6 separate regions of the Homo sapiens genome follow, and regions 2, 3, 4, 5 and 6 are each linked to region 1. Evidence: promoter capture Hi-C in 16 types of primary human blood cells and fetal thymus (Javierre and others, 2016). All regions are on one chromosome and are shown on one strand. The core of a region is centred on a gene start or on the middle of the fragment in contact, and the rest is flanking DNA. Distances in the headings are between cores, read along the strand shown. Region 1 holds the start of TMPO (thymopoietin). Region 2 has its middle 31 kb from the start of CDK17. Region 3 has its middle 7.0 kb from the start of GAS2L3. Region 4 overlaps CFAP54 (cilia and flagella associated protein 54). Region 5 has its middle 40 kb from the start of CFAP54. Region 6 has its middle 7.2 kb from the start of CFAP54.

Region 1 (4,123 bases), core at 678-3,177:
ATGCTGAATTCAGATAGAATGTAGACAAGAGGGATGGTGAGGAAAACCTACGGCAAGCAGCTCTATAATTTCTGGAAAGTGACCAGGAGGCTCGTGGATGATGGCAGGAAGGAGAGTAGAAAGTGATTTAGCCAGAAGATATGAACTTCAAATATTTTTGAAGCAGAAAAGAGCAGAAATGGTTTGGAAGTAGCAATCAGGACCAAAGAGACCACCCAAACTCAATAGCCCAACCTCTTAGCCTTAGGGTACGCAGAATCTGAAAAGTGTAATCTCAATTTTGGAGCTCTACAGCAGTAAATCTGCAAGTAACCACCTGTAGCTAATGTCCAGGGATTAAAAAAAAGATAATGAAAATGTTTTTGCCCAGGAAACATTAATTTCAGGCGTATCTAGAATGCAGTTCTTGCATTATACGTACTGGGTTACCAGTCATTGCAAAGTCATGGTCCTTTGCCTCTCAGCTCAGTTCCCCTTCTGAAGATAAAAACATTTGCCTATGTGTCCAGGGAAGCTGTGAGGACAAAAAACCAAGCAACTTTTACAAGGGATCATAAAAACCTACCTAACAACTTGCTAATTAAAACCTGATTTTTAATTTGCATTATTGAGCTTAATACCATTGCTTAAATGTATGTGAATACTGAGATTTTTATAAAGGAATTAGTTACCTCTAGGAAAATAATTATCACTAAAAGAAATAATATCGCAATTTGAATAAAAGTAAGTCGCTTAAATCATAGGAAACATTTTTAGTGAAGGCGTTTGTTTTAAATGTATTCTAACCTAGCAATGTAGAAAGCAGGCAAACATTTAAAAAAAATTTAACCAGTTTCTAAAACATAGTTTGGAGCTCAGATTCTGGGGAAATGATTAACACACCCTACATCCAAGGTCTCCTTTCCTTTCTAGAAAGAAAGCATCTTTAAACATACATATTCATCAGAAATACAAATATTTGTCATCAGTGATACTAATTTCCAGGCAAACATTTTAATTGCAGTCAATGTATTAGATTCTACCAGGTTTTAATTTGGATCGGTAATACGGGTTTGATTAGGGTTCTAGGCCTAATTATAGGTCACTAGTCTTCCTTTAGGATTATGCACCATCTGTTATTTTAAATTGACCATTGAGGGGGTTCCCAAGGGTTCTCCTTCGTTTTGTTATCAAACGTTAGGTTTAGGATTCTTGCGGGTGGTGGGATCCAAAGCCAGAGACGGTTTCAACAAAAATGCAAGCGCGAATTTGTCTTGCGTCTGAACGCACTGTTCAAATTAAACAATTTAGACATGCCCCAACTATGACACTAAGAAGTGAATGGTATAGTACACTTTTGTCACAAATTCAAGGGTAATTTAAGTGCCCGATTGTAGAGGTCTGGCTTCCCCTGGGTTTCTGGAACAAAAGAAGCGTTCGCGAGGAGAGGGGTAACTCCCCGCCCTCCCCCTCCCAAAGTAAATCAAATCAAGGAATATGAGTGCCTGCAGACAAGCCTCGCTTCTTTTCTTCCCCTTCAGGGCTAGCGTTTGGGGAAGGCAAGGCTGCGGCTACTCTTGGAGCTTCAGTGTCCCGGGAGGAAGAAAGGCCCAGCCAAGGGTCCTCACACTGGCGTGGAATTCGGCGCGTTCGTAGGCGATCGACCCCAGAGACGAAAGCTGCTTCTCAAGCTGGGGGAGGGAGAGGAAACGGCGCACAAAAGCAGTACGACCTGTCCCTTATCGGCGTCTAAGGGGAAGGGTGGAGAAAACGAAAACAGAAGCGGGCCGGGAGCCTCGGCTCCCGCCCCAGCGCCTTTTAAACTGCGTTTCTACCTCCTCTCGCTCAGCGCGGCGGCTAATGGAACCCGCGCGAGCCGTCTCGCCAATCACCGCCGCGCTTCCTCCCGTCGCCCGCCAATGGCGGCGCGCGTTCTTGGGGCGTGGGCGAAGCAGGCTGCTCGCCTCCTGCCTGTAGTGTGTGGGCTGGGGTTGGTGCGAGCTTCCAGCTTGGCCGCAGTTGGTTCGTAGTTCGGCTCTGGGGTCTTTTGTGTCCGGGTCTGGCTTGGCTTTGTGTCCGCGAGTTTTTGTTCCGCTCCGCAGCGCTCTTCCCGGGCAGGAGCCGTGAGGCTCGGAGGCGGCAGCGCGGTCCCCGGCCAGGAGCAAGCGCGCCGGCGTGAGCGGCGGCGGCAAAGGCTGTGGGGAGGGGGCTTCGCAGATCCCCGAGATGCCGGAGTTCCTGGAAGACCCCTCGGTCCTGACAAAAGACAAGTTGAAGAGTGAGTTGGTCGCCAACAATGTGACGCTGCCGGCCGGGGAGCAGCGCAAAGACGTGTACGTCCAGCTCTACCTGCAGCACCTCACGGCTCGCAACCGGCCGCCGCTCCCCGCCGGCACCAACAGCAAGGGGCCCCCGGACTTCTCCAGTGACGAAGAGCGCGAGCCCACCCCGGTCCTCGGCTCTGGGGCCGCCGCCGCGGGCCGGAGCCGAGCAGCCGTCGGCAGGGTAAGGACGCGGGGCCGGGGCTACAAAGGCGGGCGTTTGGCGGTTGCCGCGCGCGCTCGCCGCCGTTTGCAGCCCCTCCCTCCCGGGCGCCCCCTCGGGCCTCCCAGGTGCGGGGCTGTCCCTGCGCCCCCTCGCGTCGCCCCTTCCCCGCGGGGCTGCAGGCGCCGGAGCGGAGAGGCCAGAAGTTGGGGCCGCGGGGTTCGCGTTCTTTGACGTGTGGGTCTGGGAGGTGTGGAGTTGCGTTGGCGGCGGTTGTTTTGCACGCAGTCGACGCCGCTTCCCTGGACCACCAGCCGCCTGCAGCGGGCGTTTAGACGGGGACTTCCGTGCCCTTTCGAAAGCTCTGGAGGGGTGGCCCCAAAATGCTATAGGTTAAGTTCGAGCGTTTTCCCGCTTTATTAACTGAAATGACTCGCAGCAGAGTCTCAGAGCGCTCCCTGGAGGGCAACTGATGACACTCTAATTTCTAACCAAAATTTGAAATGAGGAAATTCCCGCCTTTTTATACTTTTGCGTGTGGAGGGCTTTTTGAACCGTTTATGTTTTCTAGTTTGTTTTAATTTTTCCCAGCAACAGGCCATCTTTTGGCGGAACAGGTTCATGCCGAATTAAAAGGAGCATTTTAAACTATATTTTTAGGCGCCTATTATAATTTTTTAGTTTTTATTTATTTATTTTTTTAGATGGAGTGTCGCACTTGTTGCCCAGGCTGGAGTGCAATGGCGAGATCTCGGCTCACCGCAACCTCCACCTCCCGGGTTCAAGCGATTCTCCTGCCTCAGCCTCCCGAGTAGCTGGGATTACAGGCATGCGCCGCCACGCCCGGCTGATTTGTGTATTTTTTAGTAGAGACGGGGTTTCTCCAAGTTGGTCAGGCTGGTCTCGAACTCCTGACCTCAGGTGGTCCTCCCGCCTCGGCCTCACAAAGTGCTGGGATAACAGGCGTGAGCCACCGGGCCCGGCCCTGCAAACAAATATTTGAAAATTGCAGTTTGGATTGCGTTTTCCCCACATATTGGTAAATTTTGCTTGAGGAAACGAAAGACTTAGGATTCAGGAAAAATTTATTTCATGACATTCTGGTGCATCAGTATTGCAATTTGGAATGTCTGATCCTGGTTAAATCTCAAATCGGCTCCAGCAAAGCATGTTTTGTTTCAGAATAGTTTGCTTTTTTACCTGTGGATTTTAATATGCTTTTTGTGGGTTTGCTTATGCCTGCCGAGTTACCAGGCTTCAAATCGTAATAGGATGAAGCTAAAACTAGTAATTGGTGTAACATAAAATGCCTTGTAAGAGACAGTGAATGTGGTGTTTGGAGTTGTTGGGAATGATCACTAGTTTAAACCGAAATTATTCCTTCCTTCAAATTTTACTTTAGTTTTTAAGGAACCTGTCTAATGTGTTTTCCCGGCTACTCAGGCAGAAATGAAAGACAAATGTAATAGACACATGTAAATTTAATTGAAAATCTTATTCTCGGCTTCAGAGAAGTTGAAAGTTTTACCAAACGTCTTCAGTCCGGTGTCTGGCACATAGTAGTGCCAAATATTTGTACAATAAATAAAAGACCAATCACACCTTATTGTTTAAACATCTTGTTTTGCGGAAAGCTTCTTTAATTTCTTAATAAACAAAT
Region 2 (3,971 bases), core at 501-3,000, 2.1 Mb before region 1:
ACTGTTATGAGGTCTTCGTGTAGATGACATCATTTGAGCTTCACACCAATTCTTCAATTATTATTTGGCTCACACCTGTAATCTCGGCACTTTCAGAGGCTGAGGCAGCAGGATTGCTTGAGTCCAGGAGTTCAAGACCAGCCTTGTCAACATAGTGAGACCCTGTCTATATAAAAATTAAAAATTATTTGACATTTGGCAGATGAAGATGAGCCTCAGAAAAAATAAGCGCCTTATCAAAGCTTACACAGCTAGCAAGACGTGGAATTGATGTTCACACTTAGGTAGTATGACTCCAGGTCTTTAGCGTCTAATCTCTGGGAAAGAATTCTTTAAGCAAACTCATTAAGTGGGTCTTTTGGTAATGAGGTGGTGAGGAGGGGACCCTGGAGGCTGGATTGGAGAAATGGAAACAAAAGGGAATTGTTCCCCATAGTAAATTAATAGAATTTTGGAGTTATTCTCTGATGTTCAGAAAAAGTAGGTTTAGAGATCCTGGGACTCAAAGAAGGCTACAGATGTTAAAAGGAGAGGAAGTCCTTGCAATGGCGACAGGCGGGAGTCACCGGAGAGAGAGAAGCCAAAGTGTCCATTAGGATATTTTCTGCTGTAAATAACAGAAAACTGAACTCAGAATGGGCATAAATAATACTATATTCAAAAAGTCCAAAGGTAGGAATGTCCAAGATTAAATATGTTGATGGGCCAACAATAAAGGTGAGGTTTTTTTTCCCCCAACTTTGCCTTTTTCACTCTGTGTTTTGTTTTCTCTGTCCTTAAGGAATGCCCCCTTAGTTATGAGAAGACTACAGCAGTTCCATGTATAACCTTTGGACAGGACAATTTTAGAGGAAGAGGTGCTCTCTGTTTATCTCTCTTGAAAGGAGGAAACCTTTTTCAGAAGCAGCCTGAAAGATTTCTTTTTACATTTAATTGGCCAGAATGCACCACATGCCAATAGCTAAACCAGTCACTGCCAAACATACTAATAAGAACAATTGGAATGGAGCTCTCAGCAGTAGATGTGGAAGAGGTTGGGATACTGAATAAAATCAGCGTTCAGCAAAGAGATGCTGGGTGCAGTGGCTCATGCTTAATCTCAGCACTTTGGGAGGCTAACATGGAAAGATTGCTTGAGCCCAGGAGTTCGAGACCAGCCTGGGCAACATAGTGAGATCTAAATAAATAAATAAATAAATAAATAAAAATTAGCTGAGCATGGTGGCAGGCACCTGTAGTCCTAGCTACTTGGGAGGCTGAGGGAGGAGGGTCACTTGAACCCAGGAGTTTGAGGCTGCAATGAGCTATGACTGCATCAGTGCACTCTAGCCTGGGCAATAGAGTGAGACCCTGTCTCACAAAAAAAAGAAGGAAAGAGAAATAGAGTGAACATTGAATAGGCAACTAATTTGTTGCCTGCAGAGTAAGAGACTTAGGATGCAGATGCAGAGGCACATGGGGTGAGATATAGAGGAAGGTGCATGGAACTTCCATACCCTTCATGAGTATACCACCAACCAGGACCCCTCCACGTGTTCAGCTATCTGGAAGCTCACTGAACTCTGTCCTTTTGTTTTTGTTTTTGGACACAGTTTCACTCTTGTCGCCCAGACTGGAGTGCAGTGGTACAATCTCAACTCATCGCAACCTTCGCCTCCAGGGTTCAAGCAATTCTCCTGCCTCAGCCTCCAGAGTAGCTGGAGTTACAGGCACCTGCCACCATGCCTGGCTAATTTTTTGTATTTTTAGTGGAGATGGGGTTTCACCATGTTGGCCAGGCTGCTCTCAAACTCCTGACCTCAAGTGATCCGTCCGCCTTGGCCTACCAGAGTGCTGGGATTACAGGCATGAGCAACCACGCCTGGCCCTCCTTTTGGGTTTTTATGGAACCTTTATGACGTCAGCATTCCTTTCCCCAGGGTATGGGCAGGATCCTCTCTGGGAAGAGTCCTAAGACCCACAGTCAGAAAGGTGGGGGTGGGGCAGGAAGAATTAGAGTCCTGCCTTGAAGCAGGGGAGAAGAAGGCAGGAGGTCAGAGGCCTGCCCCCGAGGCCTAACACACCCCACATTACACCAAAAGATTGTAATGGCTAGGCTCGGTGGCTCCTGTCTGTAATCCCAGCACTTTGGGAGGCCCAGGACTGGGGATCACCTGAGGTCAGAGTTTGAGATCCGCCTGGCCAACATGGTGAACCCCTGTCTCTACTAAAAATACAAAATTAGCCAGGTATGGTGGCACATGCCTGTAGTCCCAGCTACTCGGGAGGCTGAGGCAGGAGAATCGCTTGAACCCAGGAGGCAGAGGTTGTGTGGTAGGCCTGGTCTCACAGATGCAGACCTCTGTAACAACTGTTTCAGCACTGACTAAGTAGTTAAGTTAAATATTAAAAGCTGAAAGAGCCAGGATCCTTATACAAAGGCTGGAATGTAACAAAAGCCCACCAAGAGTTTTGGCTAGCTTTTCCTGGGCCTTGAAGCATGACAAAATAATGAAGCAATTCTTAACAGGACCCTTTTAGGATTAAACAAGTTTTATTGGGGGTCTGAAGAAACTCCCCAGGCCTCCACAAACAAGTTTATTGGGGCCTAAAGGAACTCCCCAAACCTTTATGATTTAGCAGGATACAAATAAGGGCAATTGGCTGGGCACAGTGGCTCACGCCTGTAATCCCAACACTTTGGGAGGCCAAGGCAGGCAGATCACAAGGTCAGGAGATCCAGACCATCCTGGCCAACATGGTGGAACCCCATCTCTACTAAGAATACAAAAATTAGCCGGACGTGGTGGTGCGTGCCTGTAATTCCAGCTACTCAGGAGGTTGAGGCAGGAGAATTGCTTGAACCCAGGACAGGGAGTGTTGCAGTCAGCCGAGATTGTGCCACTGCATTCCAGCCTGGGCTACAGGGCAAGACTCCATCTCGGAAAAAAAAAAATACAAAAATTAGCCGGGCATGGTGGCGCATGCCTGTAATCCCAGCTACTTGGGAGGCTGAGGCAGGAGAATCACTTGAATCCAGGAGGTGGAGGTTGCAGTGAGCCGAGATTGCGCCACTGCACTCCAGCCCGGGTGACAAGAGTGAAACTCTGTCTCAAAGAAAAAAGAGAGATAAAGGTCATCACCCCAGCACCTAGACCCATTTAGACTAAGTAAACTTACTAAGGCTTCAGAAAAAGATCTACAGGACTCAGACCCTAGTTACAGATTAAAAGAAGTTCATCACTTATGTCTTTAGATGAATATAGCTTAGAAAGTATATAAGCTTTGGAAAACTTTGTAATTTGGAGTTGGTCTGGCGATAATTTCCAGACCTTCTCCCTGTAACCAGTTACAGAAGTAAAAGTTCTCTTCCTCCCCAGTTCATCTGCATCTCGTTATTGGGCCATGAAAAATAGAAGCCTGGCCCTCAGTTTGGTCTGGTAACAGTTGCAGTGAGCTGAGATCTTGCCACTGCACTCCAGCCTGGGCAACAAGAGTGAAACTCCATCTCAAAAAAAAAAAAAAAAAAAAACAAAGACTATAACAAGGGCTGTGGGAATTCTGAGCCAGGAACCGTGGACAAAAACCTATATATATATCATAACACCACAGGCCACTCCCTGGTTTTCACCCATGGATCACTTACATCAAATAATATACACAATCATTAATAGTTAATGAATAGTTATTAATACAATTATTACTAGTAATAATGCATTAATAATTAACACAATGTGTTTCAGTCCATCACAGTGTGTATCTCCCAGGATGAGGCCACTTAGGTTTTCAGGTTTCATTTAGATCTTGTCAGGTTCCAAAAGCAGGAGTGGCCTCCATAGATATGCTGCCTCACCCTTTCAGGCATCTGGGGAATTGAGGTAAGTGGCTGGGCATGGTGGCTCACACCTGTAATCCCAGAACTTTGGGAGGCCTAGGTGGGCGGATCACTTGAGGTCAGGAGTTTGAGACCAGCCTAGCCAACATGGTGAAAC
Region 3 (3,656 bases), core at 529-3,028, 2.1 Mb after region 1:
TGTGGCTTGCACCTGTGGTGGTCCCAGCAACTTGGGAGGCTGAAGCAAGAGGATTGCTTGAGCCCCAGAGATGGAGGCTGCATTGAGTCATGATCGCACCACTGCACTCCAGCCTGGGCAACAGAGCGACACCCTGTCTTCAAAAAAAGAGAAAGAAAAAAACCCAGTAACTGCCTGGAGGGAGTTATAAAGGCTGCAGCGGAACTTGCTGTGGGTTTACCCTGGAACTTGGGAAAGTTTCATACAGGAGATGGTACTTCTGCTGGGCTTCAAGGGATAGCCCCAAATTCAGTGGGTCCAGGTAGGAGGGAAGGGGTTCAAGGTGAAAGGGGTGGCAGGAGCAACAGAAGGAAGGTGGTGAGTTGTACAGATGTTAAAAGACGATACGTAATCTGGGGAGGGAGGGAGGATGCACAGTCTCTTTCTAAATCTCAATTTCACCATTGTAAAATGCAGAGATCAGCATTTATTGCATAAGGGGATTTAGCTTATTAATGAAGAGTAAGTGGGAAGTAGCAGGCCCACCAGGGAGAGGGTTGGTGAGGAAAGGACATTGAAGAAAGGAGTAAATTTCAGTTTGGTGTCTCCAGATCTCATGCCGTCTGCGCAGACAGCAGTGAGAAATGAGCCTGGAACTGGTGGGGCACTGGAGACAGAGCAAGAAGCTTAATCCTCTAGATCTGCATTTATTCAAGTGGTTAAGACCTTGTAATAGCAAACAATAATGCTCATCACATGGAAAACTAATTGTGATACTATAAGAAATACATATTGTGTTTTTGTTCCTGGTTTCTGACACAGCTTCTAAAAGCTTTGGGAATTCCTGAGTGATAGGGGTAATAGGAGCAACTCTGGGTAAAAATAAAATACAAATTACAAGTGCTATGAAACAGAAGTATTTCCCTTGCTCTGATATGCACTTTTATGGGTCATTTTCCACACTAGTAGAGTGAGTTTTTTTTCTAAAATGCAAATCTGGTTACATGTTCCCTGTGCTACTTGATTTCCCATTGACTTCAGCAGAGACCCAGAACTCCTTGGGAGAGCAGTTGGCTATTGAGACCTCCTACCGGTTTTGTCTCCTGCCCTACCTATATTCTAGGCTTCCAAATAAAATGCATTCCCCAGAGGTCTATCTTCTCTTACACCAAATGAGAAAGAAAGTATAGAGACAGGGGAAAAGAAATGGGTTTGCTTGTTTTCTTCCTTTTCCTTTCCACCCCAGGTCTCAAGTAGGGGTGATTTTGTGTCTCAGGGGGACATTTGGCAATGTCTGGAGACACTTTTGGTTTTCATAACTTGGAGATAGAGGTGCTACTGGCCTCTAGGGGGTAGGAGCTAGTGATGATGCTAAACTTCCTACAATGCACAGAATAGCCTCCCTCAGCAATTATCTGGCCCAAAATGTTAACAGTGCTGAGGTTTAGAAACCCTGCTCTCTCCCATCCTGTCTTAGTTCATTCCGGCTGCTGTAAAAATAGACCATAAACTGGGTAGCTTATAAACAACAGGAATTGATTCCTTACAGTTCTGGGAAGTCCAAGATGAAGGCACTGGCAGATTCAACGTCTGGTGAGGACTTCCTGGTTCCTAGATGGCATCTTCTAGATGTGCCTGCTAGCTCTCTTGGGTCACTTTTATAAGGGCACTAATCCCAGTCACGAGGCTTCACCTTCATGGCCTAATCACCTCTCAAAGGCCCTACCTCCTAATACTATCAATTTAAGGGTTAGGATTTCAACATATGAATTCTGGGGGGACACAAATATTCAGACCATAGCATATCCCAAGAAAATATGACTCCTACACTGTACTCTCTCTTGACCTGATCTAGCATCTAGCTTCAACATAATTCTCATGGTGGTGGTTTTCTAGTTCATAACAACATTGTGGACAGTCATTTTATTAGTGAATCCAAATACTGGATATGAGCAACTGTTTTGAAATTTTGTTTTCTTTCTTTGTTGTTCAGAATGAGAAACTGATTTCACTCATTGATCCTATAGCAGCAGAATTTTACTTTTCCCCAGATTTTTACAAAATTACAATTTATTATTTTTTCCCTTATGTGAAATAATAAATTCAGTACACTATCACATATCACATTTGGGTGTTAGCTGACTTATTTTTTGGACACTCAGAATCCACTGCCTTTACTTCTGGAAGAGTACTCTGATTTCCTCAGGGGAACCACCCCCTTCCCATCTCTTAGTCCATATGTTTTAAGTGGAGTTGATTCCACCCCCAGCTCCAGAGTTGGAAGTGTGATTCAGGCATAGCTAATCAGAATATCACATATCTTAGGTCACAGTCATTGGTTTAGAATTGGGCAGGTGACTTATTTAAAGAAAATAAGATATACTGCTGGAAGAATTTTTAGGAGGAAGGCAGTGTCAGTTACATGCCTCTGTGTGTGTGTGTGTATTAATTGTTCCAAATTCTTCACTCTCTCCCTGTAGTAGAATTATATGGCCAGGTTATTTGACTCGTGAATTTGCAGTGCCTCTCACAGGAGTAGGCAGAACAGACTTCCCCACCCACTGATGTTGAGCTTGTCCTTGTGGCTTGCTTTTGGCAATAGCACGTGGGTGGAAGTGAGAGTGTCAGTTCCAAGCTATGGCCTTAAGAGACATCACATGTTTCTGCTGCTGCTCTTGCACTTCTGCTATCTGCCATGAGAAGGGAATGCCCTGGATAGTTGCAAGTCTCAGAATGAGAGACAGAAGGAGTACACCTAAACCCAACTTAAGCTTGAAGCAGCATCCCTCCTGTCCACCATGAGCTAACATGCAGATCGACAAACAAGAAAAATCAATGTTTATTACTGTAAGCCACTGAAAGTTAGGAGTTGTTTGTGATACAGCATTATCACAGCAACAGTCTAGCTAATATATCCTATTTGTGTTCAGATCTGTTCCCTTCCTTCCCTTCTCTGTTCATCTAGGGAGGGAGGGCTAACCCCTGACAGGCTGCATTTTATAGGTTTCTCTGTTAACTGGCTTTGGCCAGTTTCAATCAATGGAAAGTATTGATGGGAGACTGGAGGATGAGAAGAAGGGAAAAGCCAGGGTATTTCTCCCTCACTCTCTCTGCCTCAGATTGTATCTCTGGTAAAGATTGCATCTCCTACATGGCTCCCAGTCCCACTGGGAAACTCCCTCCTGCCCCAGTGCTGATGGCCCTGGTTTCTAAACTCCTCTTTTGAACCCTAAGCCCTAGAATTGCAGTGGCTTCCTACTGTTGCTAATCTCTGAGTTGTCTTACCTGCTCCTGTTTACCTTCTCTTGCAAAACCAAGTCTGTGTTAAGTTCCTGCTTTTTGATGCACCTATAGTGGTTTGTGTTTTCTGACTTGAGAACTATATAGAATGACTCACTTTTTTTTGGTTAGACTCAAACCTAAGAGAATGAAGAACTAGAACTTCTGGAAACCATCATATAACCAGGAGGAACCTGAGAATAAAGTCAACATGAAAATCAGAGCCAATAGAGACTGGATTTTGGTGACAATATCTGAAATCTTAGATCAAGCTGTGCCTAAAGTTAGAGAGTTCTATCCTGAGATTTTAATTACATAAGCCAATACCTGCCCTTTTTTTCTTAAGTGAGTTCGAGGATTTTTTTTTTTTTTGCTATCAAATATAACTAAATGTGATA
Region 4 (3,827 bases), core at 1,239-3,738, 2.0 Mb before region 1:
CAACAACCTGATTTTACTTTTTTAAATATTTTTATTTATTTATTTATTTACTAATTTTTTTGAGATGGAGTCTTGCTCTTTTGCCCAGGCTGGAGTGCAGTGGCCTGATCTCAGCTCACTGCAATCTCCACCTCATGAGTTCAAATGATTCTCCTCCTGAGTAGCAGGGACTACAGATGTGCGCCACCATGCCTGGCTAATTTTTGTATTTTTAGTAGAGACGGGGTTTCACCATGTTCACCATGTTGGACAGGCTGGTCTCAAACTCCTGACCTCAAGTGATCCACCTTTCTTGGCCTCCCGAAGTGCTGGGATTACAGGCATGAGCCACTGTGCCTGGCCAACAACCTGATCTTAAAAATGGGCCAAAGACCTTAACAGACACCTCACCAAAGAAGACATACAGATGGCAAATAAACATATGAAAATATGCTCCACATCATATGTAATCAGGGGAATGCAAATTAAAGCAACAATAAGATACCCTACATGCCTATTAGGAAGGCTAAAATCTAGAACACCGACAACACCAAATGCCGGTAAGGATGTGGAGCAATGAAGTCTCTCATTGATTGCTGGTGGGAATGCAAAATAGTACAGCCACTTTGGAGGACAGGTGGTTTTTTACAAAATTAAACATATTCTTACCATAACATTCACCCCTTGTGCTCCTTGGTATTTACCCAAAGGAATTGAAAACTTATGTCCATATAAAAACCTGCACATCGGGCTGGGAGCGGTGGCTCATGCCTGTAATACTAGCACTTTGGGTGGCCTAGGCGGGTGGATTACCTGAGGTCAGGAGTTTGAGACCAGCCTGGCCCACATGGTGAAACCCTGTCTCTACTAAAAATACAACAATCAGCCAGGCATGGTGGTGCACGCCTGTAATCCCAGCTACTCGGGAGGCTGAGGAAGGAGAATTGCTTGAACCCCAGAGGTGGAGGTTGCAGTGAGCCAAGATCGTGCCACTGCACTCCAGCCTGTGTGACAGGAGCAAGACTCCATCTCAAAAACAAAACAAAACAAAACAAAACAAAACAAAACAAAAAAAACCGTGCGCATCAGTATTTCTAGCAGCCTTATTCATAATTGCCAAAACTTGTAAGCAACCAAGATGTCATTCAGCATGTGCGTGGATAAATAAACTGTAATGCATCCAGACAATGGGATATTATTCAGTGCTAAAAAGAAATGAGCTATCAAGCCATGAAAAGACATGGAGGAAACTTAGATGCATATTGCTAAGTGAAAGAAGCCAATCTGAAAAGGCTTCCTACTATATGATTCCAACTATGACATTTTGGAAAAGGCATGACTATGGAGACAGTAAAAATATCAGTGGTTAACAGAGATTAAGCGGGAAAGGAGGGATGAATAAGTGGAGCACGGAGGATTTTTAGGATAGTGAATCTACTCTCTGATATTTTCACAGTGGATAGACATTATATACATTTGTCCAAACTCATGGAATGGATGACACCAACAGTGAACCCTAAACTATGGACTTTGGGTGATAATGATGTGTCAATGTAGGTTCATCACAACAAAGGTACCATTCTAGTGGAGATGTTGATAATGGGGAGGGCTGTGCATGTTTGGGGGCACAGGGTATATATGGGAAATCTCAGAATCTTCTGCTCAATTCTGTTGTGAACTTAAAATTGCTCTATGAAGTAAAGTATCTAAAAAAAATATGTAAAGGGCTGCAATCAATGCTTGGTACATAGGAAGCAATAATTTTAACTGTAATTACATTTATTATTAATAATTGGACATTAACAATAAGGCACATTGGAAAGGCTTTAGCATAAGGTAAGTTTTAAAGGATTGCTTGCAAATTAATTGGGGTTTCCTGCAGACTTTGACAATGTCGTTTTATTTTATGATTTTTACAGTGCCACTTCTTTGTTTAATATCTGGACTAAATACGCCCCCAGGCTGCCAGCAGACTATTACAACGAAAAGCTTCTGAAGGTTGGAGATAGCCTTTGTCAAATGAAAGTAAGTGCCTCTGCAGGAAAGAGCCAAAAAGAAGTTCATTTGGCTAATTATTATTACAGTATTTAGTCTGATACCCTTCCTATTTTACATGTTTTGATTTTTCTCTTAGAAAAAAATAAATGAGTACATAAAAATTTTAATAAGGCACAGTAACCAAAAAAGTGTTGCTTTTTAATTTTGTAGTTGAGATTTCCCAGAGGTGAGACATTCCTGAACAGCCAGGCAGCTGGCTGTGGATGGGCAGGAGGGTGGCCGGGTTAACAGAGGGTGTGGTAGGCACACAACAGGAAATGCTGAATCATCGTGTTCCTACCTTATACAAAGGAGCCCAGACACCACTTCCTGTTGTTTTTCATATGGCTGGCCTTGCCCAGTGGTCAACCTTCAGGGCTCTTGGCCTTGCAGCTCTGTTGCTTGCTTCAGTGCCCTGTTTATTAAACTCTTTCAACTCTTTCTTAATGTTTTGCTGTATGTAATTATAACAGTCATTCCATACATACCCTGTTTCTTGCTCAGTATTGTATTCCAGAATGAGTTTGTGTCCTTCTTTTAGTTCTACCTGAATGTCTAGGGCTTGGAATGCTGTGGACCGGTGGACTTGGTTTGCTGAGACCACAGCATGGCTGGGTTTTCCATTAATGATCATGTGAGTTTCCCCCTTAAACTCTGGCCTAGGTCCAGATTATTCTAAGTTATGTGAACGTCAGACAATGGGATCTTAGGCCAGCCGTGGGCAGTGTTCAGTGTTTTCTCAATCTTCAGTTTCTCAACTTCATTTTTCCCCTCTCTGTTTTCTGGACTTTAATCCTCTTGGTCTGGGAGACAAATTTACCAAATAGAGGATATGAGTGGTGGAACTTCATAATGAAGAACTAAGATCTATTTTCTTCTGCCAAAACTAGAGAATAACCATAGTTCCACATAAATGGACCATGGGTCTTAGAAACTTGAAAATACAGGGCTTGGTAAGCTACAGAAAAGAAACCTGGGTGAGATTCAACTTGGAAGCTTTATTCATGTAAGTGGAATAAGAGTTTTGACAAGAATTACAAGATAGCCCCCTTTCCATCCTTACACTTTTCAGTATAAGAAGCTGGTAATACAAATAAAAAGCACAGTGTAGGGTTGTTTGAGAAATGTCTGTGTGGGTGGAGTGGATATTAGTGGAGGGAGGAGAGAGGTGTATGTTAGAAGCTGATAAAGCAAGTTAAAGATGGCTGGTAGCTAAGGATTCAGAATGTTTTAGATAGAAAGGCCTAGATAGGATATTTTAATATTTAATTAAAGGAACAAAGAAAAAGTTTTATCTACTTTTCACTGAAGGGAATGTTGGCCAGGCTGGGCATGGTGGCTCACACCTGTAATCCCAGAACTTTGGTAGGCTGAGGAGGGCAGATTGCTTGCTTGAGCCCAGGAGTTTGAGACAAGCCTGGGTAACATGGCGAAACACTGTCCCTAAAAAAAAAAAAAAAAAAAAAAAGGTATTTATAATTCTGAAAATGAACTTGTTACTTTGGTTTCTAGGCTCTATTTTTATTTTAGTTGTAGTAAAGATCATCTTGTGGAAAATTTTTTTTAAACCTAGATTTGAATTTATTATATGACTCAAGTTAGAGCAGAAAAGATTCAGGATTAGTGAGCAAAAACAAATCTTTAATAGAAATTTAAACAAAACAGTGTTTGACTGAAGATGCCTCCCAAGGGGCTAGGTAACTGGACAGCCAGTTCAACCTTGGGCAGTTGCTTTTCCTGGGGATGAAGTTGTGGGGGAGGGAGCTGAGGAAGGGTTGCAAGTGACTCATTTTGAAAGCACTGCTTATGTC
Region 5 (3,750 bases), core at 10-2,509, 2.1 Mb before region 1:
CTATTACTTTACAGACTTGCTAATATACTGTGGAGCTCCTAAAACAGCTTGGTTGATCAACCAGCAGTAGCATTATTAAACTAACAAACAAAAGAACTTGTACATGGATAAAGGTCTAATAATCTTTATTAAGGGATCTGTAGCCCTTTTTGTAACATTTACAAGAAGAATTTACCTTGTATTTTCAAAGATATATCACATATCTGAGGAAGTTAAAATAGCCCCCCCCCCTTTTTTTTTTACTTAATTAGCCTGAATCAGTAAAATGGTTTCCATGATCATCACTCCTCAACACAATTATGTCCCATTTTAATAGTGGGTTCTGGGTGAATTTGCCTTGATCAAATTTGAGGACAAAAATAGGGCATAAGATTAATTATTATTTTTATTTTTGAGATGGAGTCCTGCTCTGTCACCCAGGCTGGAGTGCAATGGTGCAATCTTGGCTCACTGCAGCCTCTGCCCCCCGGGTTCAAGCGATTCTCCTGCCTCAGCCTCCTGAGTAGCTGGGACTACAGGTGCCTGCCACCACGCCCTGCTAATTTTTGTAGTTTTAGTAGAGACGGGTTTTTGCCATGTTGGCCAGGCTGGTCTCAAACTCCCGACCTCAAGTGATCTGCCCACCTTGGCCTCCCAAAGTGCTGGGATTACAGGCATGAGCCACTGCTCCTGGCCAAGATTAATTTAATGTAGGCAAAATTTCAGCTGATCTTATATATCCAGTCAATTCAAAATATTTACCTTTTCAGAGTAAGCTATGAATATTTTATAACATATACTTTAATAGGCCTATAAAAATTATGAAAATGTCTTGGGTTTGCTTTGCTCCTACCTCCCCTGCCCTGTTCCTTATGTGTTGACGCCAAGGGTGCTCCTTAATAAACATCCTGCAAGCTATAAACTCTGTCTCAGTGCCTGCTTCCCAATGAATTCAGTCTACTACAGTGACTCTGTTTAAAAGCAGCAGTGACCACCTGGACTGTGAGTCACAGGAAAAGGATGGAGAATCGCATGTCATATGAGGAGTGACTGAAACGAGAGTGAGAAATAGGAGAGAAAAGTATAATACAATGATTAAATACATAGACTCAACTCCTAGCTTGACTATCCACTTACTGGGAGATCAAGGAAAGTGTTTTTTGTTTTGTTTTGTTTTTTTTGAGTCAGAGTCTCGCTCTGTCACCCAGGCTGGAGTGCAGTGGCGCGATCTCGGCTCACTGCAAGCTCTGCCTCCCAGGTTCAAGCCATTCTCCTGCCTCAGCCTCCCGAGTAGCTGGGATTACAGGTGACCGCCACCATGCCTGGCTAATTTTTGTATTTTTAGTAGAGACGGGGTTTCCCTATATTGGTCAGGCTGGTCTCGAACTCCTGACCTCAGGTGATCTGCCCACCTTGGCCTCCCAAAGTGCTGGGATTACAGGCATGAGTCACTGTGCCCGGCCGTTTTTGTTCTTTTTAATCCTATTTTTCTGCAGAGAATCTAGGTTTTTGTTTTGTTTTTGTTTTTTAATTCTACTTCTGCTGGGAATCTAGTTTTAATAGATAGTTATTAAATTGCAGTTTAATTTGTTAATCTATGGATTAATGTATTATCTCCCATAGGGGGCAAACTTTACTAATATTATGGAAAAAATAACTCAAAAAGTGACATAACTGTTATTACTACTGCAGAATGTGGAGACAGTGTTTGGGGACAGGTAAATCCTTCAGTAGCTTCTTTTTTTCTTTTTTCTTTCTTTTTTTGAGATAGAGTCTCACTCTGTCACTGAAGTTGGAGGGCAGTGGCAGGATATTGGCTCACTGCAACCTCCACCACCCAGGTTCAAGCAATTCTCCTGCCTCAGCCTCCCAAGTAGCTGGGATTACAGGTGCCTACCACCACACCCAGATAATTTTTTGTATTTTTAGTAGAGACAGGGTTTCACCGTGTTGGCCAGGCTGGTTTCAAACTTCTGACCTCAGGTGATCCACCTGCCTTGGCTTCCCAAAGTGCTGGGATTACAGGCATAAGCCACTGCACCAGCCTTCAGTAGCTTTTAATTGCACAATGTAGTCAACCATTTCATTTACCTATGCATGGGACTAGTCCATGAAAGTTAATAATGTTAATGGTGGTAAATGGTGTAGTACAATACTAAAGAATATCGGCTTTGACATCCAGAAGATAGGTCTCAAATTAACAACCTTATAGAACACATAATAGAACTAGAAAAACAAGAACAAACTAAACCTAAAGCTAGCAAAAGGGAAAAAAAAAACTATAATTAGAGCAGAACTAAACAAACTTGGACCAAGAAAACCATACAATGGATCAATGAAACACAAAGTTTGTTACTTGAAAGGATAAACAAGATTGAGGCTGGGCACGGTGGCTCACGCCTATAATCCCAGCACTTTGGGAGGCTGAGGTGGACGATCACCTAAGGTCAGGAGGTCAAGATCAGCCTGGTCAACATGGTGAAACCCCGTCTCTACTAAAAAATACAAAAAATTACCTGTGTGTGGTAGTGGGCGCCTGTAATCCCAGCTACTCAGGAGACTGAGGCAAGGAGAATTGCTTGAATCCGGGAGGCGGAGGTTGCAATGAGCCAAGATCATGCCACTGCACTCCAGCCTGGGCGACAGTGAGACTCCGTCTCAAAAACAACAACAACAGGCCAGGTGCGGTGGCTCACGCCTGTAATCCCAGCACTTTGGGAGGCTGAGGCGGGTGGATCATGAAGTCAGGAGATCGAGACCATCCTGGCTAACACGGTGAAACCCCGTCTCTACTAACAATACAAAAAAAAATTAGCTGGGCGTGGTGGCAGGCACCTGTCGTCCCAGCTACTCAGGAGGCTGAGACAGGAGAATGGCGTGAACCCCGGAGGCAGAGCTTGCAGTGAGCCGAGATCGCGCCACTTCACTCCAGCCTGGGTGACAGAGCGAGACTCCGTCTCAAAAAAAAAAAATAAAACAACAACAACAACAACAATACAAGACGATAGACTGCTAGCTGGATTAACAAAAAAAAGAAAAAAAGGAGAGAGAGAGAGAAGATTAAAATAAGCACAATCAGAAATGACAAAAGTGACATTGCAACTGATCCCATAGATATGCAAAAGATCCTCAGAGACTACTACAAACATCTCTATGTGCACAAACTAGAAAATCTAGAGGAAATGGATAAATTCCTGGAAACATGTAATCTCCTAAGATTGAATCAAAAGAAAGTGAAAACCTGGACAGATCAATAACAAGTTATGAAATAGAATCCAACCAAAAAAGTCCTAGACCAGATGGATTCACAGCTGAATTCTACCAGATGTACAAAGAAGAGCTGGTACTAATCTTACTGAAACTATTCCAAAAAACAGAAGAGGAAGGATTTCTCCCTAACTCATTCTGCAAAACTCATTCTGATACCAAAATCTGGCAAAGAAACCACACACACAATAAAACAAAACAAAGCAAAACAAAACTACAGGCCAATATCCCTGATGAACATAGACACAAAAATTCTCAACAAAATACTAGCAAACTAAATCCAGCAGCACATCAAAAAGATAATCCACCATGATCAAGTGGGCTTTATTCCTGAGATGCAAGGATGGTTCAACATACACAAATCAATAAACATGATTCAACACATAAACAGAATTAAAAACAAAAACTATAGATGATCTCAATAGGTGCAGAGAAAGTAGCCAATAAAATCCAAAATCTCTTAGTGATAAAAACCCACAACAAACTAGGCATCAAAGGAATATA
Region 6 (4,136 bases), core at 850-3,349, 2.0 Mb before region 1:
ACCTCAGGTGATCTGCCTGCCTTGGCCTCCCAAAGTGCTGGGATTACAGGTGTGAGCCACCGCACCCAGTGATTGTTTTTAATGCTTTACTATTGTAAGCATTTAAGGTTAGCAATAAACATCTGCTGTATGTTCTGTATATATCTGTATATGCATCTTTATGCATATGTATGATTTCTAAAGCTGATTTCAAGAAATCAAGAAATAAAATTTCTTTTTTTTTTTTTTGGGATGGAGTTTTGCTCTTGTTGCCCCGATTGGAGTGCAGTGGTGTGATGTCGGCTCATTCCAACCTCCACCTCCCTGGTTCAAGTGATTCTCCTGTCTCAGCCTCCCAAGTAGATGGGATTACAGGTGCCCGCTGCCACGCCTGGCTAATTTTGTATTTTTAGTAGAGACGGAGTTTCACCATGTTGGCCAGGCTGGTGTCGAACTCCTGACCTCAGGTGATCCACCCGCCTTCACCTCCCAAAGTGCTGAGATTACAGGTGTGAACCACTGCACCTGGCCCAAGAAATAAAACTTCTAGGTGATAGGGTACAATAGTTGTAGTAAAGGGTTGGCACCTCCTACGAAAACCTCCAATCCCAGTACCTGAAACAAGGTGAAAGTTTATTTATTTATTTACTTATGTTTGTTTATTTTATTTTATTTTTCGAGATGGAGTCTTGCTCTGTCGTCAAGCTGGAGTGCAGTGGTGCCATCTCAGCTCACTACAACCTCTGCCTCCCGGGTTCAAGCGATTCTCCTGCCTCAGCCTCCTAAGTAGCTGGGATTACAGGCACGCATGACTACGCCCGGCTAATTTTTTGTATTTTAGTAGAGACGGGGTTTTACCATGTTGGCCAAGACGGTCTCAATCTCCTGACCTCATGATCCGCCCTCCTCAGCCTCCCAAAGTGTTGGGATTACAGGCGTGAGCCACCGCGCCTGTCCGCTGAAAGTTTATTTTCCTCTCACATAGTAAGTTGGGTGAGTGGTCTAGGACTCATACCAGGGCTTCACAGTGTGAAGGAATCCAGGCTCCTTCCATCTTGCTGCTCTCTTTTCCTTAGGGTGTTGCTGGCATTATCATCCAAGAGGACTTGTATACTAGACACACCTTATGCAAAGCCTTGGGTTTTCTGTCTTCACTGACTTTCTAGGCCCTCTACCACTTACTGCTTTCCAGCAACTGCTCTGATGACTGCCTCCAGGTTGGAGAAACCCCATCCTGGCCTGCTTGGTTCCACCACCTGAGGCCACTATGTGGCGTTTTTGGCTCCTTTCACCACTTTAAAAAAAATATTGAGATGGGGTCTCACTATGTTGCCAAGGTTGTACTTGAACTCTTGGGTTCAAATGATCCTCCCACCTTGGCCTCCTAAGTAGCTGGGACTATAGCCATGTGCCACTGTGCCCAGTTCCTTTCACTGCTTTTGTTGTTGTTGTTGTTGTTTTTGTTGTTGTTGAGATGGAGTCTTGCTCTGTCACCCAGGCTGGAGTGCAGTGGCATGATCTCAGCTCACTGCAACCTCCACCTCCTGGGTTCAAGTGATTCTCCTGCTTCAGCCTCCCGAGTAGCTGGAATTACAGGCACCTGCCACCACTCCTGGCTAATTGTTATATTTTTAGCAGAGATGGGGTTTCACATGTTGGCCAGGCTGGTTTTGAACTCCTGGTCTCGGGTGATCTTCCCGCCTTGGCCTCCCAAAGTGTTGGGATTGTAGGTGTGAGCCACCGTGCCTGGCCCTTTCACTGCTTTTGAACTGGGATGAAACACTATATCACAAGGTATGAGATTTGGCATCGTCAGTAGCTGCTGAAGGGGCAAGGTGATCCAACCTGGAAGTAGAGTGGTGAATCTTGACCAGGAGAAGGGCAGCAGGTATATTTTCTCTCTACCTTTTCCTCTTACAAACTCCTCTAAGATGTAGTATATAGAGATGTAGATAGCCTGTTGGGACACATCCCGCATGACTGAGCAACTCGTTGTGTTTCTTCATGATGTGAAGAAGGCCGGCATTGTACTTCTTTTCATCTGTCCCTGTCCCACTTTCTTTTCTCTTCATTCTTGCTTCACGGAAATTACACTACTAAGTGAAGCACTAGCACTTAAGCCTTTGCCTCAAACTCTTGTTTTTTAGGAAACTCAGGTTAACACAATAAAGTGAGGTGTAAAAAGTGGACACTCGGCTGGGCATGGTAGCTCACGCCTGTAATCCCAGCAGTTTGGGAGGCCGAGGCGGGTAGATCACCTGAGGTAGGGAGTTCGAGACCAGCCTGACCAACATGGAGAAACCCCGTGGTGGTGCATGCCTGTAATCCCAGCTACTTGGGAGGCTGAGGCAGGAGAATCCCTTGAACTGGGGAGGCAGAGGTTGTGGTGAGCCGAAATAGCACCATTGCACTCCAGCCTGGGCAACAAGAGCAAAACTCCATCTAAAAAGAAAAAAAAAAAAAAGAAAAAAAATTGGACACTCAGGATTAGATTTTAGAGTTGAATTGTCACCTATCTGAAGGCAACAGGGACCTGATTGTCTTAGAGCAGTTAATTCACAACTGAAGGCATGCTCTGAAAGACAGTGCCTCTACTGCAGCTTAGGACAGCTGCAGGGTAGATTTTGCTAAAGACCGGGTCCAGGATCTGATTATACAGCAGAAAGTCCAAGAAAAGGTGGAGGCCGAGAGACCTGAAGTGGAAACATTTAGGTAGACAAGCCCAAGAACTTTGAACCTCTAAATTTCTCTGAGCCCCCTATACTTGCAAAAATAGCCCCTAACCATTTGCCAGAGAAAAACAATCTCTGCTTGCCTGGGGGAACATATAATGACCTAATCTGAAGCAGGTGCCTTTCATGGTGAGACTTGTTTTCCTCAAGATGTGCCCCCAATACACTTCATTGCCTTCTGGCTGGAAAGGAAAGTCAGGTTTCAGCACAGCCTGAGCAGGAAATTACAAGCTCTGCTCTAAGAAGAAATTGCTTACATGGCAAAGGAATTGTGGGATCTGGCTAATAAGTAGTAGCTGAAACTGCAGAGAACATGTGTAGGAGTGAGTCTTGAATATGTTAGACCGGGGCACAGAATGCAAAAGTGACGAGGGTAGAATTCATTAATATGGGAATACTCACCCATGATTCAGAATTCCTAATAACTTAATGAGATGACTTCTTGAAGCATTGATCTGATAATGTTCCACATCAAATGAAGTGGAGATGACAGAACTTCCTTGATATCATATTGAAGAAAAGGTCGGAAGGCTCAAGGAAGTAGGGATGTTATACTGGATTCATTGCATATGTCCTGAGAACCCAGCACCTGGTTTACGGATTAAGAAAATGGGGCACAATGAGGTTAAGTAACTTGGAAGAAGTGAGGATTCAAACCATGCTCTTTGGCCTCAGAATTTGGGCGTTTATTTATTTATGACACAGAGTTTTGCTCTGTTGCCCAGGCTGGAGTGCAATGGTGCCATCTTGGCTCACTGCAAAGTCTGCCTCCTGAGTTCAAGCGATTCTCCTGCCTCAGCCTCCTGAGCAGCTGGGCTTACAGGCACCTGCCACCACGCCCAGCTAATTTTGTGTTTTTAGTAGAGACTAGGTTTCACCATGTTGGTCAGGCTGTTCTCGAATTTCTGGCCTCAAGTGATCTGCCTGCCTCCGCCTCCCAAAGTGCTGGTGATAGGGAAGGTTGGAAGGGAAGTGCTGGGAAAGGAAGGGCATGGTCCCTGGTGAAGGCTCCATCCCCGGCCTGTGCCCATGGACCTAGGTGAGGACAGGCACTTCTGCCTTCATGCCCAAATGTTGCATTTGCCAAGACAACCCTGGCCTGCCACGCCTCTATCCTGTGCCTATAAAAACCCCGAAGACCCTAGCAGGCAGACCTACAGGTGGCTGGACATGGAGAGGAACACATCGGTTGAAAAAGACACAAGAGGCTAGATGTCGAGAGGACGTCAAAGAGAGCACGCCAGCGGAAGAGCACACCGATAGACGTTGGCACGCCGCACGGCCATCCACTGGCAGAACGAGGCAGAGTTTGGCTGGGGCAGTCGGAGGAGAGCCCAGGCCGCTAAGCAGCCCCACTCCAGGGGAAAGCCATCTCCCTTCTGGCTCCCCCATCTGCTGAGAGCTACTTCCATTCAATAAAACCTT

What was found. Contacts are between HindIII fragments. The CHiCAGO score rates a contact against its expected background, and 5 or more counts as called.
Region 2: a fragment that was not itself captured here is called in contact with the fragment with the promoter of TMPO in region 1 in 4 of 17 cell types (non-activated CD4 T cells, naive CD8 T cells, M0 macrophages and 1 more); the score reaches 7.4 in non-activated CD4 T cells.
Region 3: a fragment that was not itself captured here is called in contact with the fragment with the promoter of TMPO in region 1 in 1 of 17 cell types (M0 macrophages); the score reaches 6.3 in M0 macrophages.
Region 4: a contact is called between a fragment that was not itself captured here and the fragment with the promoter of TMPO in region 1, in 8 of 17 cell types (non-activated CD4 T cells, activated CD4 T cells, total CD8 T cells and 5 more). The highest score is 12.2, in non-activated CD4 T cells.
Region 5: a fragment that was not itself captured here is called in contact with the fragment with the promoter of TMPO in region 1 in 4 of 17 cell types (naive CD8 T cells, total CD4 T cells, non-activated CD4 T cells and 1 more); the score reaches 11.7 in naive CD8 T cells.
Region 6: a fragment that was not itself captured here is called in contact with the fragment with the promoter of TMPO in region 1 in 1 of 17 cell types (naive CD4 T cells); the score reaches 6.7 in naive CD4 T cells.

Annotation. Positions count from the first base shown.
Region 1 is chr12:98,513,663-98,517,785 of GRCh38, forward strand. TMPO (thymopoietin) reads left to right here and starts at 1,928. Exons shown (of 9, transcript NM_001032283.3): 1 at 1,928-2,484. The coding sequence starts at 2,206. It overlaps TMPO-AS1 (TMPO antisense RNA 1), which reads right to left and starts at 2,564. Exons shown (of 2, transcript NR_027157.1): 1 at 2,329-2,564; 2 at 1-2,235. RefSeq lists enhancers at 1,548-1,627, 1,888-2,077 and a silencer at 2,418-2,687. The HindIII fragment of the contact is 4,246 bases long and covers 1-4,095 here.
Region 2 is chr12:96,429,306-96,433,276 of GRCh38, forward strand. No RefSeq gene overlaps it. Among named protein-coding and RNA genes, the nearest start is that of CDK17, 31 kb to the left of the region's middle. The HindIII fragment of the contact is 3,020 bases long and covers 241-3,260 here.
Region 3 is chr12:100,564,809-100,568,464 of GRCh38, forward strand. No RefSeq gene overlaps it. Among named protein-coding and RNA genes, the nearest start is that of GAS2L3, 7.0 kb to the right of the region's middle. The HindIII fragment of the contact is 1,939 bases long and covers 810-2,748 here.
Region 4 is chr12:96,498,936-96,502,762 of GRCh38, forward strand. It overlaps CFAP54 (cilia and flagella associated protein 54), which reads left to right. Exons shown (of 68, transcript NM_001306084.2): 2 at 1,899-2,004. Among named protein-coding and RNA genes, the nearest start is that of CFAP54, 11 kb to the left of the region's middle. RefSeq lists an enhancer at 1,714-2,913. The HindIII fragment of the contact is 1,044 bases long and covers 1,967-3,010 here.
Region 5 is chr12:96,447,549-96,451,298 of GRCh38, forward strand. No RefSeq gene overlaps it. Among named protein-coding and RNA genes, the nearest start is that of CFAP54, 40 kb to the right of the region's middle. The HindIII fragment of the contact is 5,525 bases long and covers 1-3,750 here.
Region 6 is chr12:96,480,337-96,484,472 of GRCh38, forward strand. No RefSeq gene overlaps it. Among named protein-coding and RNA genes, the nearest start is that of CFAP54, 7.2 kb to the right of the region's middle. RefSeq lists a silencer at 4,040-4,136. The HindIII fragment of the contact is 8,484 bases long and covers 1-4,136 here.